Linked DNA regions of Homo sapiens: region 2 is linked to region 1. Evidence: promoter capture Hi-C in 16 types of primary human blood cells and fetal thymus (Javierre and others, 2016). All regions are on one chromosome and are shown on one strand. Each heading gives the region's core, a stretch centred on a gene start or on the middle of the fragment in contact. The rest is flanking DNA. Distances are from core to core; before and after follow the strand shown. Region 1 holds the start of TPPP2 (tubulin polymerization promoting protein family member 2). Region 2 has its middle 15 kb from the start of RNASE10.

Evidence for each region. Contacts are between HindIII fragments. The CHiCAGO score rates a contact against its expected background, and 5 or more counts as called.
Region 2: a fragment that was not itself captured here is called in contact with the fragment with the promoter of TPPP2 in region 1 in 2 of 17 cell types (M2 macrophages and monocytes); the score reaches 7.4 in M2 macrophages.

Annotation. Positions count from the first base shown.
Region 1 is chr14:21,026,437-21,032,472 of GRCh38, forward strand. It overlaps TPPP2 (tubulin polymerization promoting protein family member 2), which reads left to right and starts at 3,781. Exons shown (of 4, transcript NM_173846.5): 1 at 3,781-3,868; 2 at 4,077-4,318; 3 at 4,576-4,729; 4 at 5,456-6,036. The coding sequence starts at 4,146. The coding sequence ends at 5,641. It also overlaps a transcript of NDRG2 not described here. The HindIII fragment of the contact is 5,962 bases long and covers 3,587-6,036 here.
Region 2 is chr14:20,487,302-20,493,337 of GRCh38, forward strand. No RefSeq gene overlaps it. Among named protein-coding and RNA genes, the nearest start is that of RNASE10, 15 kb to the right of the region's middle. RefSeq lists an enhancer at 4,370-4,469. The HindIII fragment of the contact is 5,077 bases long and covers 223-5,299 here.

The sequences.
Region 1 (6,036 bases), core at 2,531-5,030:
CAACACCAGCACCGACTGCCCCCCCAAGACCCCCAAGTTTCCCTGCCCCCTCCTGCCTGGGAACCACCCTCCCACCACCACCCTCACCACCCGCAATACCCCTCCCATCCAAGGAACATCAATGCCCCTTTCATCCCCACTTGGCAGGGTCTACTGGAAAGAAGGAGAGGCCAAGAGGGAGGAGGTGACCCACAGTAGGAAAACTGGTCGGGCTAAAACCCAGCCTTCAACAACCCCAAATCTAAGGAGCTCCCCCTACATCCCCCAATTTGGAGCACCCAACTTTTCTTCTGTTCCTTTCTCCCACTCCCTTTATAACTTTTTCCCCAGAAACTGGCACAGAAGCTGGGCACCCTGGCTCCTCTCCTAGTCCCCTCTTCCCTCTGGATGCCAGTTTAACACTCTCCTGGACAAGGAAAAGCCTGCTGGAATAAGGGTCACAGCCAAAGGTGCGCAAGACAGGAGAGATCTCATCAGCACCAGAGGAACCTGGGGAGAGGGAGAGCCTCGAGTGAGAACTTTTGCCTGCAGGCTTTTCTTTGTCAAAAGTCGTCTTACTTGGAGTGGGGGAGGGAAGGACCTGAAGGTTCCAGCATCTAAATTCGTCTCTGGGTCAGGATGACTCAGGGGGAACCTGATAAGGGGCCTACGCAGGGGCGCAGGGCAGGCAGGAGATGGGAAATTTCCACTGACATCCATTGGCTTCCTAGACCTTGGGGTCCCACCCAGCCTGCTGCAGGCAGAAGTAAGGCTGGTTCTCCCCTAAGATATGGTTCTTCCATGTCAGGGCAGCTCCCAGCCCAACCAGGGTGTAAGTGTTGCAAGGACAATCTCTGTCTAAACTCTTTCCCTTTGGCCAGAGCAGCTTCACACTATACCTTCAAGTAAGCAACAGTTTTAAGTATCTGTTATGTGCAAGCCACTGTGTAGATGAAATTCAAAGTGTGCATCTGGTCACACCCTCTCTAGACATTTGTGATGAGAAATGACATTTTGACATTTGTCAAGAGAAGGTACAAACACAGGACAAGTTATATATAAGATCAATCATTTGGACAGTAAGTCCTATAGCAGTAGTTTCCCACCCTTCTCAAGTGGGAGATTAGAGATTTCCAACCCCACATAATAGGTATAGTATCCCCTGATGGAGAAAATGCAAACTATGAATTCATCAATACTTTGAAGTAAGTTTCTGTCACAACATCTGTAAATGCGGTAATACCTACACATGCAAGGCATATTATTTACTCAGTTCACACTCACTCTTTATACATACAGATTCTAGGGCCCTTTGCAAGATTTCAGAAATCCTCACGCCAGGAGGCTGTGGCCCACAGTCTAGAAATCATTATCTTACTATAATTCAGAGAAGGAAAAGGGCTTTGTTCCTAGGATGAACCACCAAATGAGAAGTGCAACCATGGAATACTTGAGTGGGAGTGAGGGGCATTCTATCCAGGCACAGAGAGAGCATGAAGGACAGTTTGGAGGCAGAAACATTCAGGTTACTTTGGAGAACTGAATAGTAGCTTCCCATGTATTATCCCCTAATACCGTAAGGTTAGTGTTATCGTCCTCACTGTACAGATGAGAAAATTGAAACTCAGAAATGTTTAGTGAGTTGCCCAAGTCCACTCAGCTAGTAAATGACATATCTAGGATTCATTTCCCCACCCCGGTCCATTCCACTCCAGGGACTATGCTCCTTCCACTCCCAAGTAGCCTGTCAAGTGTATAGCAATTAGGCCATATGACCCCAGCTGCAGAATAATCTGGTTCTTAGGTTTTTTGTTTCTTGGGGTTCTTTTTGTTTTGTTTTGTTTTGTTTTGTTTTTGAGATGGGGTCTCTCTGTCAGCCAGGTGGGAGTGCGCTGACACAATCCTAGTTCACTGCAGCCCCAAACTCCCGGGCTCAAGCAATCCTCCCACTTCAGCCTCCTCAGTAGCTGGGACTACAGGTGCATGCCACCACTCCCAACTAATTTTTTTATTATTATTTATTTATCTAGAGACAAGGTCTCACTTTGTTGGCCTCCCAAAGTGCTGGAATTATAGGCATGAGCCACTGTGCCCTGCCCAAGAATAATGTTGATGAGAGGTGGGTGATGTTTGGTAGGGTAGATTGGGGCCTAGTTAGTTGTATAGGTCCTTGAATGCTAAGCAAAAAGATTTAGCAATGAGAAGCTATAGTATATCTTGAGCCACAGAATATTCTTGAGCAGGAGTAATAAAAAATACTGTTTTGTGAAAATTAATCTGATGGGGAGGAGGTAATAGAGATGGATTATGGGTGGGTGGGAGTGAAGAATTAGATTTAGAAAAGAGATCATTTAGAAACCAGAGTAGTCATCCAACTATGAGATGATAAGAACTTGAATAAGGGTGGAAGCAATAGGAATGGAAAGAAAGGCATAGATTTGTAAGACAAAGAAAAAAAATAGAAAGTGGTGGCATTATTAGATGGGAAAAGGAGGAAAGTCACCAGTCTCGTTGCTCTGTTTTAGGATCCGTGAGGTTCATCTATCTGTAGTGCTTCTGGCCAGAGAAAAGGCCGAAGAGAGAAAACCCTGAGGAACATCTTTGACCTGCATAGAAACTTATCTGAAGATTTTCAGAATCTGAGCCTCACCCTCAGTCTATCCCAGTTTTATCCTGACCTGTCCACATCTGTTATACTCCAAGGCTTGCTGGGCCCAACACTGGAAGCTATTTAATGTTTCTATTGCGACTGGCCTTTTAAAGCCAGTGGGATTCTCCATGCTACACTTGAGCCTGGAGACTAGAAAACATGACAGCCTGTTTTCATTAATCCGTTTTCATTAACTGCTGTGGTCTGAATGTTTATGTTGTCCACAGATTCATATATTAAAATCCTAACTCCCGGCTGGACGCAGTGGGTCACACCTGTAATCCCAGCACTTTGGGAGGCTGAGGCAGGTGGATCACTTGAGGTCAGGAGTTCGAAACCAGCCTGGCCAACATGGCAAAACCCCGTCTCTACTAAAAATGCAAAAATTAGCCAGGCATAGTGGCTGGGCTAATCCCAGCTACTGGGGAGGCTGAGGCATGAGAGTCGCTTGAATCCTGGGACTGGAGGTTGCAGTGCCCCAGGATCATGCCACTGCATTTCAGCCTGGGCAACAGACAGCGAGACTCCATCTCAAAATAAATACGCAAATAAATAAAATAAAATCCTAACTCCCAAAGTCATGGTATTAGGAGATGGGGCATTTTGGGGGGTGATTAAGTTTTATGAGGGCAGAGCCTTTCTGAATGGGATTCATACCCTTATAAATAGGCCCAAGGGAACTCATTCACCCCTTCTACCATGTGAGGACACAGCAAGAAGGTGCCATCTATGGACCGGAAAGCAGCCCTCACCAAACACTGAATCTGCCAGCACCTTGATCTTAGACTTCTCAGCCTTCAGAGCTCTGAGAAATAAATGTCTGTTGTTTATAAGCCACCCAGTTTGATATTTTGTTCTAGCAGCCCAAACAGACTACAACACCTTCCCTGGGCTCGCCTCAGCTTCTGTTGTGGGGCAGAGCATAAGGCAATTTGACTAGGACCCAGAGGATGGGTAAGCTTGGCTGAAATGATGGAAATGTGATCATCTGAAAAGGTCAGAAAGTTGGCAGTTTGCTCAATTCGGCATGCAAGGTAGGGAGACCAAAAGCCCCCTCCTTTGAAGGCAATGGCTGTAGCTGGGGCCAGAAGTGATGTCACATAACCACTGCTGAGGTCATAGAATCTTCCCTCTCCTCCCTCTGTCTCCTCATTGCCACAGCCAACCGGCTCCCACATATCTGCACACACTTAAATACAAAGGCCGGGAAGGGTCAGACCACCATCCGGGTACTCTAAGGTACATAAAAGAGGTAGGGGAAAGAGAGGATCATTCAGTAGGTAGGATCCACACTGGTATCTCCAATGCTGGGAATGGGAGACTCATGCTGTAGTTGCGTAGGTGCAATGGGAGCTGGGAGGGAGAAAGGAGAGAGCAACAGGGAAGAGGGGAGCTGTTCCTGTTGCTGACTGATTTTACCATAACACTCATCCTCATTACTCCACAGTCCTCCCTCCCCCTTCTCCTTCACCCCCAAGTGTCTCCCACGACTGCCCTCCCCGACCTCTAGCTGACCATGGCATCAGAGGCAGAAAAAACATTCCATCGGTTTGCTGCGTTTGGAGAATCATCAAGCAGTGGCACTGAAATGAACAACAAGAACTTCTCCAAGCTGTGCAAAGACTGTGGCATCATGGATGGCAAGACAGTCACCTCCACGGACGTGGACATCGTGTTCAGCAAAGTCAAGTGAGGAGCCAAAAATATGGAGGTGGGGGTGAGAAGAACCTGCGAGGTAGTTGGCCACGGAAGGGTTCACGTGGTGGAACATTTGCAGTGGGCCTACCAAGCACCACAGGGTACCTGGCGCTGTGCTATCCTTTGTCTTCGAGACACTCACTGATTGATAGGACAAAAGAGGCCAAATCTGAGTGAGGCAAGAGTTGGACCTTGGAAGGTAATGCATTCATGCTCCAAAGTTTCTGGATTTCTGTCTAACTGACCAGGGCCAAGAACGCCCGAACCATCACGTTTCAACAGTTCAAAGAGGCAGTGAAGGAACTGGGCCAGAAGCGCTTCAAAGGGAAGAGTCCAGATGAAGTCCTGGAGAACATTTATGGACTCATGGAGGGCAAAGACCCAGCCACCACTGGCGCTACTGTGAGTGACAGCCTTCATCCCCTTGACCCTACTTCCCTAAATCCCCATTGTTCCAGTCTACCCTCCCTAACCCTGCCAACTGTGTGACTGTAGAGACAGGGCCGAAACAGACTTTAGAGATCATCTAGACATTCCAGAAGTCAGGAAAATGTGGCCCAGAGAAGGGAAGTGACTTGCCCAAGGTCCATGGCTATTTTAATAGTAGATTTAGACTAATTTCCAAGTGTCTAGTATCTGAGCCAGGCAATTAGGGCTTGGTAGCTTTTGGAGGACATTAGTGTAGAGAATTTGGTACCTGATGCCCACTCCTCTTCCAATTCTTATTTAGGGTTTAATCTCAGGCCTCCTGCCTCTCACCTACTCCCTTTTTTAATTGTCCTGTCTGAACTAAAAGCTCTTTCTACAGTGGATATTGAGTCGGGGAGTGGGAGTGAAGTCCTCAGGCAGCAGCCTAGTCAGAATAACTCCTCTGGAAACAAAAAACCTACCCTCCCTCTGCACACGCCACACTCATTCCCACACCACACTCCTCCTCCCCCATGAGTGAACGGCTCTTACCAGAGTACCTGCCCACAGCTGTATCTGGGCCCTAAGAAAGCAGCACCCCATGCCAGTGGCAGAGCAAGAGCTCCAAGCACTTGTTCTAAGTATCTCGGGCCATCTTTGGGGAAGGGATATGACAGCGTAAGGAAAGGAAGAGAGCTCAAATCCATCCCTGGCTTGCAGAAAGCAACAACAGTGGGTGCAGTGGACCGTTTGACAGACACCAGCAAGTACACCGGCACCCACAAGGAGCGCTTTGATGAGAGTGGCAAGGGCAAGGGCATTGCGGGACGGGAAGAGATGACTGACAACACAGGCTATGTGAGTGGTTACAAGGGTTCTGGCACCTACGATAAGAAGACCAAGTAGAGAGGAGCTTCATCTCAGCCTGCTAGCCCCCTGACCCTGCATGTTTAACACCAGGGAGCTTGGAAAACAATAAACATCTGTGTGTGCAGCAGCCAAAATCTCTGTCTGTGAGGGACAGATGAGCCTACTAGTGTAGAGAGAGGGAGAAGAGGCAGCACAGGAGGGTGGGTTCTCCACCACACACCCTTCGCTCTGCTTAGCCTTATGCCTACCAGCCATCAGTTAGCATTCCTCCTCAACAGCTGCTTCCAAGAACAGGATGGAAGAATATATTTGGAGTAAAGAGATGAACCAGATGTGGAGGTAAAAGTATCTACTACTTGTGTTCACACATTACTGATATCCACCTCTCCACCCCCACCCCTCAAAAGGGTGTAGCAATTCCTCACGTGATG
Region 2 (6,036 bases), core at 1,511-4,010, 540 kb before region 1:
CCTTTTTTTTTAAATGATGGGAGGCATTTTGAACTGGAAAGAAGCCAACTGGGACTTGGGTGTGATCTGAAGAAGAGAAGATGGCCTGTACCATAGTCTGAGAGTTAAATGGCACCTTTATTGATTATTGATATAATACCCTATGGCTTGCTTATAGTACAGTTACACCTGTGTTGTGTGATAGGGAGCCTTGCCAGTGGAAGCAAATTGGTCTAAGATAGAAGCTTGGTTTTGACTTGATAGCTGCCCATAAGAGGGCAGCAGAGCAGAGCTAGGAAATTAAAAACAACAACAACAATAATAACAACAACAAAGAAAAACTCTGCAAGGTGATCCCTGCAGGGTAAAGACTTTTTAGCAAACTCTTTAAAGATATTAAAGAAAGTTCAGCCCTTCCTCCCCAGAGCCTCAGTGCTAGATTCTTGCTTAGAGACCCCAAAGGCTCCAGACTTGGGAATACAACTGGTAACATGGCAGACTATGAGCCCTGCAGGGGAGGGAGCAACTGTAAAGCTGATTGAGTGTAAAAGAATGGCTAGTACAGAAGGAAGATGTAGCTGTTATATCGAAGCATTAAAAACAAACAAACAACAAACTAGGCCAGGTGGGGGCCGGGCACAGTGGCTCACGCCTGTAATCCCAGCACTTTGGGAGGCTGAGGTGGGAGGATCACTTGAGGCCAGGAGTTTGAGACCGACCTGAGCAACATAGCAAGACCCTGTTTCTAAAAAAAAAAAAAAAAAAAAAAAAAAATTTACAAGCTGATTGTGATGGCACACACCTGTAGTCTCAGCTACTTGGGAGTCTGAGGCAGGAGGATCACTTGAGCCCAGGAACTCCAGGTTACAGTGAGCAATGATCATGCCACTGCTCTCCAGCTTGGGTGATAAAGCGAGACCCTATCCCTCTCTAAAAAACAAGACAAAACAATAACAATAAAACAAATTAGTCTGGACCATTGTCATTATGAACAGACTATTTTTTCAAAGTAATCACTGCAATTTACTATCATTCCATAAAAGCCATTGATGCTGAATTCCAATGTGTGTGGCTAAATTTTACCAAAAAAACCTAGTATAGAAGGACTTAATTTATGCTGGGAGGAAGGGAGACACTCATGCTGAGATTGGACCTTTAATGTGAATATTCACAGCAGGTAATATGTACATAGTGCTTTATAGTTTACAAAATATTTTACATTTTTTGGTCCTTTTTAGTTGTGATAATTACTGAGACCCTTGAGCAAGTATCATTGATATTTTTCTCATTTTCATTTTTCTGATTTAAAAAGGCTTAGAGAAAGGTTATCTGACTTTTCCAATACCACACAGCAAAGGAATAGCTAAGCTATTCCTTCAGGCTCAGAACTTTTGTCACCATAGCATTAGATCTACATAAAGAGATGGGGATGGAGAATGTGTAAAAAGGCATCACGTTTAGGTTGAATGAAAAGCCAGAGAGTAGTTAAGTTTGGTGGTAAACAGAAGATGAAAGGAGGTAGTGAAGAACTGTCTTCTATTAATATTATTATTATGATTTTTTTAAGAGATAGAATCTTGATCTGTTACCCAGGCTCTGTGGAATGCACTAGTATGATCATAGCTCTCTGCATCCTTGAACTCCAAGGCTCAAGCAATCCTCTTGCCTCAAACTCCTGAGTAGCTGGGACTACAGGCACATATCACCACACCCAGCTGATTAAAAAAAATTTTTTTTGTAGAAACAAAGTCTTGCTATGTTGCCCAGGCTGGTCTCGAATTCCTGGCCTCAAGTGATCCTAGCACCTCGGCCTCCTAAAGTATTGGGATTACAGGCATGAGCCAACGTACCTGGCCTTATATTATTTTTAAACTTATTTATATAGAAGAATCAAATTTACTCTGTGCAACTTTGGAGAGTTGACTAGGACAGGAGAGCCCACTCAATATTAGAAAAAGAGCTCTACAAAAAAGACATTGTTACGTTACATTCCTGAAATGTTGAAATAGGGGCTAGAGGAATATTTGACAAAGCTGTAGAGAGAAATAGTTGACCTTATGACCTCTAAAATTCTTTTCAAGATATTTTATCTGCAAAAACCTGAATAGCAACAACTATAGTTCCACAACACTCTAGTTCTACAGAAGGAGGGTGGGATGTTACACTGTGCTTTCATGTTTCAATAATTATATATCTATCCATGCATGTCCACTTCTGCTTGATGCCACTGAAGTGGGACCTGAGGAGCTGGGGTGCTAGGGCAGAAAGAGTAAGGTCTGTGCCCGATCCTAGACAAAAGTGGAAGCAATTCACTGCTTCATCCATCACGGAAGGGCAACTCTTTAGCTTAGCAAACTGAGAAATTTTCAGGCTCAACACCAGCAGGAATTCAATTTGCAGCAAGATAGACCTCAGGGGATTGAGGCAATGATTCAGAGAGGATGGGTGGGGTAGGGTTACACAGGAACTTTAGAGAAAGAATCGTTTGTGGGTGGAAGCCTTGGGCAGAGGTGCACTCAGTAGAGAAGAAAGCCATTTGTTCCAGAACAGCAGTTTGAAAGGGGTGTGTTTTGTGTGGGCAATGGTGTATGAGGAAAGGGTTTGTGGGGAAGAAGCGTGTGGGGCTACTAACAGGCACAGAAACACTTGTTGAGAAATGTTGTTCATAGGGGGATTGCTTTGCTGGGGCCCAGGAGCAGGTGGTTTGGTGCAGTGAAAGAGGCCAGAGGGGCAGAAAGAAGGGTCCTAGCTGTGGCCTTAAACACACACATACACACACACACACACACACACACCAAAAAGCAAGGAAGAACCCCTTATCCTCTCAGCCAAGATAAGCAAGCGCTGTTACCAGCTAGGTGTGCTTACTATGGATTTTATACATTTTAGAGAAAATTTCTAATGCCCATTTGTCCTGAACTTTTTACTTGGAATATCGTTAAGTTTACGGAAAAGTAGAAAGGATCATGTAATGAACACTAGTGTACCTCTCACCTAAACCATCAATAGTCAATAATCTGCTACATACATTTGTTTTCTCCTGAGCCATTTGAAAGTAAATTGCTGCAGACAATTTGCCTATCAGTCCATTTTTGAATATATTGGCACGCATCTCTAAGAATAAGGACATTCTCTTACATAATAGCATTGCCATTATGAAGATCTTACCTATGAAGATCCACATTAATTCATAAGATCTGCATGTGTGTTACTTATCAGTACGTCTTATAATGGATTCTGAATGCTTTCCCTTTTCTTATTTCTCTAGCTGTCATCTTTGAAGGTAAAACCTCGACTGCATATCTGGCCAGCCAGGCCAGGCCAAAGTACCTGTATACTGGGTGAGGGGATAAGAAAGACTCTCTCAAAGAGCACAGGAACCTGGAAGCCTGTCAGAGGTCACCTCTCACGGAAGCCCAGGACGCTTCCTTCCTGCTGAGCTAATCTTAACTGCTGACCTCCACGCATTGCTCAGGGCTCCCTCCCTCCCTTCTTCCCTATTTCCTTCCTTCCCTTTCCTCTCCTTTCCTGTCTCTTTCACCAAACCTTAACGGACAACTCTTCTGTGCTAACTTCTGTGCCAGTGTATTAGTCCGTTTTCATGTTGCTGATAAAGACATATCAGAGACTGGGAAGAAAAGGTGGTTTAATTTGACTTACAGTTCCACATGGCTGGGGAGGTCTCACAATCATGGCAGAGGGTGAAAGGCACTTCTTACTTGGAGGAGGCAAGAGGGAATGAGGAAGATGCAAAAGTGGAAACCCCTGATAAAACCATCAGATCTCGTGAGACTTATTCACTACCACGACCAAACCATATCAGCCAGTATCTGCCATCCCAAGTGAACTTAGTCTGTGAACTCAAAATAGTGCTGGCCAGGCATGGTGGCTCACGTCTGTAATCCCAGCGCTTTGGGCGGCCAAGGCGGGGGGATCATGAGGTCAGGAGATCGAGACCATCCTGGCTGACATGGCGAAACCCTGTCTCCACTAAAATACAAAAAAATTAGCAGGGCATGGTGGCACATGCCTGTAGTCCCAGCTACTAAGGAGGTTGAGGCAGAAGAATGGAAGAATGGCTTGAACCCAAGAGGCAGAGGTTGCAGTGAGCCGAGATCGCGCCACTGCCCTCCATCCTGGCAACAGAGTGAGACTCTGTCTCAAAAAAAAAAAAAAAAGTTCAGAAAAGGCAGAGTTTCTTCTGGCGAGTCATTCCTTTCTTTGGCTCTGTGACCCGCCCTTTAGGAGCATCGTGCAGATGGACTGGCTTGTCCACCTGGTGGCCCTATCAGGGTATATGGGCTTGGCATGGAAAAAGCCTCTGCTCCTTGGATCACTAATATTACCTTGATCATCATCATTACCTGACCAGAGTACTAGACACAGTTTCATGAAGAGAAAGCAAACCCTTTCATCCTGAAATTTTAACTTAGTTGCTCCTCCCATGGGGTGATTCTTGGTGCAGGGGAGATATCTATTTGCAAATTGAGGGGCATTTGTGTCTACCTTCTTGACTTAGGTGGTTTCTGTTTTGTTTCTCGTTATGGTTGTTGGCTGTCCTTTCAAGATTATTTCTACGCGTCAAAAAGTCTGTGAGCTAATTTTAACATGTCAGGCATCTTACTGGAAACCACACATTTACTCCGAATAAAGCTACAACATGCTAACTAAAACTAAGTTTGTTTGAACTATTCAAACCATTGTGGTCATCTCATTCTTACTAAAAACCTTTTCTGGTAAGTTTCATTTATTTATTTATTTTTATTAGTACAAATGGGAAAATAAAGTGGTGATTCATAGGTATAAATATTATATGGCAAAATTTCTTCAACACTTGAAATTATTAGTACCACCTGAGAATTACATCAGGTCAAATCAGCATTTGGTAAATAGTAGTCACCATTTGTAGAATTAAACCATCCAAACTTCTAATCTATCACCTAGGGCTAAGGACTCACACACTTCAGCTCTGGGGACCAAAATGCTGGCTTCAGGAAGCATAATGATTTTAGCCTCGATACAGTGATGGCATAATCAATCAAGTTGTATCCTGCCTCTTTTCTCTCACCTAAATTTGATTTGTGTGATTATTTATTGCAGACAGTTTTGCAAGCTGACTTTAATCCTATCTTGGAATGAGGTGGAGTATAAAAGAATACAAATCAACAAACATGCTAATGTATTTTAAGAAGGAGATAGGAGAGTTTGGAAATTGGAAAGGGAAATTCTAAATTTTGAGAATTGCTTTCTACTAAACCATCATTGTCCAGGAGTAACACACTAGCTCACTTCTTAATTTCAAGTCAGAAACATTTTCCCAAGCTTATCCTGGCCCGAAGGAACTGTGACGCTGCTGACCACTGATGCTCACCAAGCAATCATCTCTTTGAGGTTTGGTCTCCCACTTGAGTCAGGGAGAGAATGTATGGGGCAGGTTTATTTTCACTGCACATATTTTTCAATGTAGATCTTGTTCATAGTTTTAACTGGGGATTGGTTGGTGTGAGTAACTCGCATGAAACTGAAAAATGCGCTGGACACAGTGGTTCATGCCTGTAATCCCAGCACTTTGGGAGGCTGAGGCAGGCAGATCACCTGAGGTCAGGAGTTCAAGATGACCCTGGCCAAAATGGTGAAACCCCATGTCTACTAAAAATACAAAAATTAGCCAGGTGTGGTGGCGGGTGCCTGTAATCCCAGCTACTTGGGAGGCTGAGGCAGGAGAAGCTTGAACTCGGGAGGTGGTGGTTGCAGTGAGCCGAGATCACGCCACTGCACTCCAGCCTGGGCGACAAGAGTGAGACTCCATCTCAAAAAAAAAGAAACTGAAAAACTCAGATAAGATCAAGTTTGCACCTGTAAGTTGTGGATAGGATCCAATGTATCTTGGATAATTGTGCAGCCTCCACCTCCTGAAACCCTTTCTGGGTGTCCATCTGGTTTTTTTGGACATGGTCCCCCAGATACATTTGCTAAGTTACAACTATATCTTAACAAATATTTATAGGGACCTATGGGGGCTGGGAATAATAAAAAGGGTCTAATAGGTTGGGCAAC